2 separate regions of the Homo sapiens genome follow, and region 2 is linked to region 1. The links are contacts of gene promoters, found by promoter capture Hi-C in blood cells and fetal thymus (Javierre and others, 2016). All regions are on one chromosome and are shown on one strand. Each heading gives the region's core, a stretch centred on a gene start or on the middle of the fragment in contact. The rest is flanking DNA. Distances are from core to core; before and after follow the strand shown. Region 1 holds the start of C1QL2 (complement C1q like 2). Region 2 has its middle 22 kb from the start of EN1.

Evidence for each region. Contacts are between HindIII fragments. The CHiCAGO score rates a contact against its expected background, and 5 or more counts as called.
Region 2: a contact is called between a fragment that was not itself captured here and the fragment with the promoter of C1QL2 in region 1, in 4 of 17 cell types (monocytes, M2 macrophages, M0 macrophages and 1 more). The highest score is 8.2, in monocytes.

Annotation. Positions count from the first base shown.
Region 1 is chr2:119,157,293-119,160,095 of GRCh38, forward strand. It overlaps C1QL2 (complement C1q like 2), which reads right to left and starts at 1,459. Exons shown (of 2, transcript NM_182528.4): 1 at 294-1,459. The coding sequence starts at 977. RefSeq lists an enhancer at 1-637. The HindIII fragment of the contact is 3,837 bases long and covers 1-2,803 here.
Region 2 is chr2:118,867,944-118,870,746 of GRCh38, forward strand. No RefSeq gene overlaps it. Among named protein-coding and RNA genes, the nearest start is that of EN1, 22 kb to the left of the region's middle. The HindIII fragment of the contact is 1,381 bases long and covers 658-2,038 here.

The DNA of each region.
Region 1 (2,803 bases), core at 209-2,708:
AAAGAACTGAGGTTTCCGAGAAGCCCACGGAGAGGCAGGCAGGGACGCAAGTGGCCAAGGAGTGTAGTTTAGGTATGGGGGTCTCTGGGCTCTCAAGGCCCAACATTTGGCTCTACGTCCCGGTGAGCGCGGCCTCGGCGCATCGGGAAGCGGAGATACTGTGGCACCGAGGCGCGTTCATTCCCGGGGCTCGCAGGGTAGCCCGCGGGTGGAGAGAAAGGAGGCTGGTTCCCTGGGAGGTTCAGGGCGCGGGCGAGGGTTTACGGGGGCCGGTGAGTGTAGGGGTCACTGACCTGCCCGTTCTTGCAGAGGTCCGCCCACATGCTGGTGCCGTCGCCGCCGCGCATGAGGATGTGGTAGGTGAAGAAGTAGATGCCGCGTACCTGGCAGCTGAACTTGCCCGTGGTGGGGTCATAGTGATTGCCGAGGTTGGTGACCACGTCATCGAACTTCAGCACCTCATAGCCTTCGTGGGGGCTCTTGAGACCCACATAGAAGGCGATCTTGGGGCCGCTGAAGGTGGCGCTCAGCGCACTGGTCACTTCACCCTCGGAATCGCCACCTACCCCGGCCCCGCCGCCCACCACCCCGACGCCGCTGGCCGTGCCCGCCGTCAGTTGCAGCCCTGGCAGCCCGGGCCGCCCCGAGTCGCCCTTCTCTCCCGGAGGGCCCCTGGGTCCAGGCGGGCCCGGCTCTCCAGGGGGCCCCCGCGGCCCTGGCTTGCCCGGTCGCCCCGGGTCGCCCTTGGGTCCCTGGATGAAAGGAGGAGGAGGGTTGGCGCTGAGGTCCTGCATGACTTCCAGGGCGGCGGTGCTGGGTCCGGGTGGCTGCGCCTTTGCACCCGGGGGCTCCCCGCCGGGCGCGGCAGTGTAAGGGTCGCAGATCATGCGGCAGGTGCCCATCATCTCATAGTGCGCGGCGCCTCGGGGCGCCGCCTGCAGCAGCAGCGGCACGGCGATGAGCAGCCCGAGCGCCATGGCCAAGAGTACGCCGACGGCCGCCAGGCAGGCACGCCGCCGCCGCTGCCACAGCCGGGAGGCGACCGCCACCAGCTCCTCCTTGCCGCCCGGGGAGGTAATGGTGGGGCGGCGCGGGCGGCCCCGCTCCCCGCGCTCGGGGACCGGCTCCGCGGGTCCTGGCCGCGCCCCCGACGTGGCGACCCCCAGCCCCGGCTACCCAACTACTTCAGCGAGAGGCGCCGGGACCTCTGAGCCTGGGCCCACCGCGCTGGGGCTGGTCGGGAGAGCCGCGGACGCCCGCGCGCATGACGTGGGGCACACAAGACGAATCCGGCGCCCCGAGGGTCCGGCGCCGGCCAGGGAGTGCTTGCGCTGGCCGGGGAGTCTGCTTGCGGCGTCCGGCGCTGGCTCCGCGGCGCTGCCTCCCGCCAGGCTCCGCTCCGCTGGGTTTAGTGGGGCTCCTAGCGCAGTGAGGGCGCCCCGGCTCCGCGGCGCGCTCTGCTGTGCTCTCTCGCTGTTCGCTGGCTCCCGCGCGGAGGGGGGACCCCGCTACCCTGACGTAAGGAGTCCGGGGCTGAGCGGCGGAGGCGGCGAAGCAGCGCGCGCTGCCATCACTCGGGAGACGGAGCCCTCATGTCATCAGCCTCCTATCTGGCGGCGTCCTCGGCAGAGGCGGTGAAGGCGCGGTTCCCCCTGGCGGCTCCCAGGAGCCACAAGTGGGCGCAGCGGGCGCGGTCCCAAGCCGGGGCACATCGGACACACCCACCCGCGGCCACACTCACGCGCCCCCCACCGATAACACACACAGACACCCACGCACGCAGTGGCGGGGCACGCACAGCCACCCCCACATGGCCACGAAAGCAGCTGGAATCCAGGTGTCAGCAGGGCTCCTCTGGGGTCACCTAATCCATCCCCTGGCCTGCAAAGAGGATCAAACCTCAACCCACCGAGTCCAGGAGAGTCCCGTGAGGTCCAGCGGGAAGGAGTTTCTGAAAGACCTCCTGAGTTATTTCTTCAGAATTGAATAGATCTCGCTTCTGGAAGATCTTTCGCAAACCTAGACTAAGGACTCCAGACTCTTAAACAGGCTCCCGTAGAGCACCCCACTAACCTCTGAGGTGACTCTAAAAAGCCCAAGGCTCCCAATACAAGAATATTTGCGGCCGGGCGCAGTGGCTCACGCCTGTGATCCCAACACTTTGGGAGGCCGAAGCGGGCAGATCACCTGAGGTTGGGAGTTTGAGACCAGCCTGACCAACATGATGAAACCCCGTCTGTACTAAAAACACAAAATTAACTGGGCATGGTGGTGCATGCCCGTAATCCCAGCTACGCGGAAGGCTGAGGCAGGAGAGTCGCTTGAACCAGAGAGGCAGAGGTTGCGGTGAGGCGGGATCGTGCCATTGCACTCCAGCCTGGGCAACAAAAGCAAAAGTCCATCTCAAAAAAAAAAAAAAAAAAAAGGAATATTCGCCTCAGACCTTTTCTTCCACCAGAAAATGGCTGGCCCTTGTCCTCTGCGTGAAGCTGGTGTAGAAACCAAATGCTTGATGCCGGCACTTGGCAGTGATCATGGTGCACTCAGCTTCTACTCCAAGCCCGGCCACTGCCAGGCAGATGCATGGGCACATTCCCTTGGACATCCCCAGCTTCCTCCTCCTGAGATGGGTTTAGTTATTTTAGAAAATAGTCCAAATAGTCCAAAGCCATTCTGAGCCAGTCTTGAATAAACCATGGCCTCAGATGAGAGCAGAATAGTCTATCTCCAATGTAGCATGTGAGGCTAAGGAAGGATGAGAGGCCCGCCGGTGTGGGAGAGACTTCCAGCGGAGAAATCAAAG
Region 2 (2,803 bases), core at 98-2,597, 290 kb before region 1:
TAACATATATTATATATAATATAATATATAACATATATTATATATAATATAATATATAACATATATTATATATAATATAATATATAACATATATAATATATAACATATAGCATATATAATATATAACATATAACATATATTATATATAACATATAACATATATTATATATAACATATAACATATATAATATGTAACATTATATATAACATATATAATATGTAACATTATATATAACATATATAATATGTAACATTATATATAACATATGTTATATATTTCAGCCTCAAGGAAGAGGATACATCCCTACCCACTAAGTGTGGGCTGGGCTGTGCATGATGCGTTTGTTCCCTCCACGGAGTATAGGGGAAAGAGTCACTTTACAGTGTCAAAATCTGACACATACTACCTCAGCTGGGTGATCAAGGTCAGTAGCAACAGTGATAAATCATGTTAGTACATGTCTTTCATATAATGATAAAAATGGCATTTTACCTCAGTGGTCTTCCTCCCCAAAGTCCATAACCCCAGTCTAATCATGAGAAACACATCAAATAGATTCCACAGAGAGACATTCTACAAAACACCTGACCAGTACTGCTCAACTGTCAGGGTCATCAGAAACAGGGGAAGTTTGAGAAACTCTCACAGCCAAGAGAAGCTTAAGGAAATATGTCAAGTAAATGGATGGGATCTTGGAGCAGAAGACTTTAGATAAAAGCTAAGAAAATGTGAATGAACTATGGACTTTAGTTAATCATGTAGCAATATGTAACAAGGGTACCATGCTAAGGTCAATGACAGAGAAAACTGGGTGAGAGAGTCTATGGGAATTCTCTACTGTCTTCTCAATTTCCCTATGAGTTTAAAACTGTTCTAAAAATAAAGCCTGTTAAAATGGTATGGGTTCTAGAAAGTTATAGGTAAAAAGAAAATGATACCTTAAAACTGTCTCTAGATCAGGGTTGGCAAACTTTGTTTGCAAAATATCAGCTAGTAAATATTGTAGGCTTTGAAGCCTTAAGGTGTCTGTTGCGACTACTCAACTCTGCTGTTGTGTGTTACAAGAGCAGCCATATCTTAACAAGTAAGTGTGGCTGACTTCCAATAAAACTTTATTTAGCAAAAACAAAGTCCACAGGCCTCAGTTTGCAAACCCCTGCTCTCATGTATATAAATGAAGTCAAAGTGCTAGGTCACAAATTTCCATCACATTGTGGTGGAAAGCATCAAGTTGTATTGCATCAAATACACATTCATCAGAAACAGCAGAAATGGATTAACATTGAAGTCCATGTCTTGCCCAGAACTTAGCGTTTTTACTACAATTGTGTCTCACTGGGTTATTTTTTACTTCCTTCTTCTGAGAAATGCCTATTTGCAGCTTTTGCTCATTTTCTGCTGGGCTGTCCTTTTTTCTAATGCATTGGCAGGAGTTCTTTATGTATTCTGGATAGTAATCTACCAGCTACAGATGTTGCGTATATTTTCTCCTGGTCTATGGCCTGCCTTTCACTTTTCTTTTGGTGTCTTTTGATGAACAGAGTTAATTTTAATGTCGTCTGGTTTATTAATGTTTCCTTATTGTAGTTAGTGCTTTTTCTCTCTTGTGTTTAAGAAATCATCTCAAACTCAAAGTCAGAAAGATACTCTTCTATATTTTCTTTGAACAGTTTTGAAGTCTTGCCTTTCACCTGTAAATCCTCCGTGTACCTGAGATTTACTGAAAAGTACAGAATATATGGAGGAGGAAGGGATTCGATGTTATGTTTTTCTACGTGGATGCCCAGTAGTCCCATCCCTGTTGCCTCCTCCCATGTTGGTCTGGAGTGCCATCTGCCATGTCACTGAGAGGATTACATTATATAATGCAGGAAATGTGCTTGGCCTAGCCCCCAGCTTCAATTTAGTGAGACTGTGACTCTGAATTCCCCTTCCTTTCCAGGCTCTAGGGGAGCTGGGGCTCACAATCTTCTGCTTTCAATAATGCTTTTCCTAAACATGAAGACCATAATGTAACGAGGGCTTCTGGCTACAGCAAGCTTGCACATCCACCAGTGAACCAGGGTAACAGGACAGCAGCAGAAGGGGTCCTCACCCTCTGAGCACTGCAAAATGAACAGCTCGGCACTCCTCCTGCAGCTCAAACATTTGCTAAAGCACTTTTAAACAGGTCCTCAGTCAAGGACACTGGGAGATGGCAATTAAGTCTTCTTGAGACTCCAGGGGCCCTGGTGGCAGTGGCTGGGAAATCTGACCTGGTGAACAGATAAGAAATGCTTATAATTAGCACATTCAATGTGAAATACATGTGATTGCACAGATTGTAATTTTCCAAACTGTCAAGACAATTCTCCAACAACTCTTCACTCATAAGGAGGCTCAGCATGGCCATTGTATATGCTACTAATTTCCTTGTTTTCATAGAGAGCAGATAGAAACCCCAACTCACCTTGTCTATATGTCCGTCAAATCTAAATTCAAGGAATTGAAATGAATACGGACTTAATCTTACAGATATGTCTTAGATCATTTTCTTATTGAGGTAAAACTTACATTCAATAAAATTTTACAGATCTGAAGTGTCCAGCTTATGAAACTTTTCCGTATATGTACACCTGTATTATTGCCACCTAGATCTGCATATTTAACATTTCCAGCCTCCAGAAAGCTCTCTCATGCCCTTCCTGGTCATGTCTCCCTGCAGAGGTAGCCATTAGTCTGATTTCCATCATGCAGATTAGTTTTGCTTGTATCTGAAGTTCCCGTAAATGGAAGCTTTATCATGTGTACTCTTTTGCATAT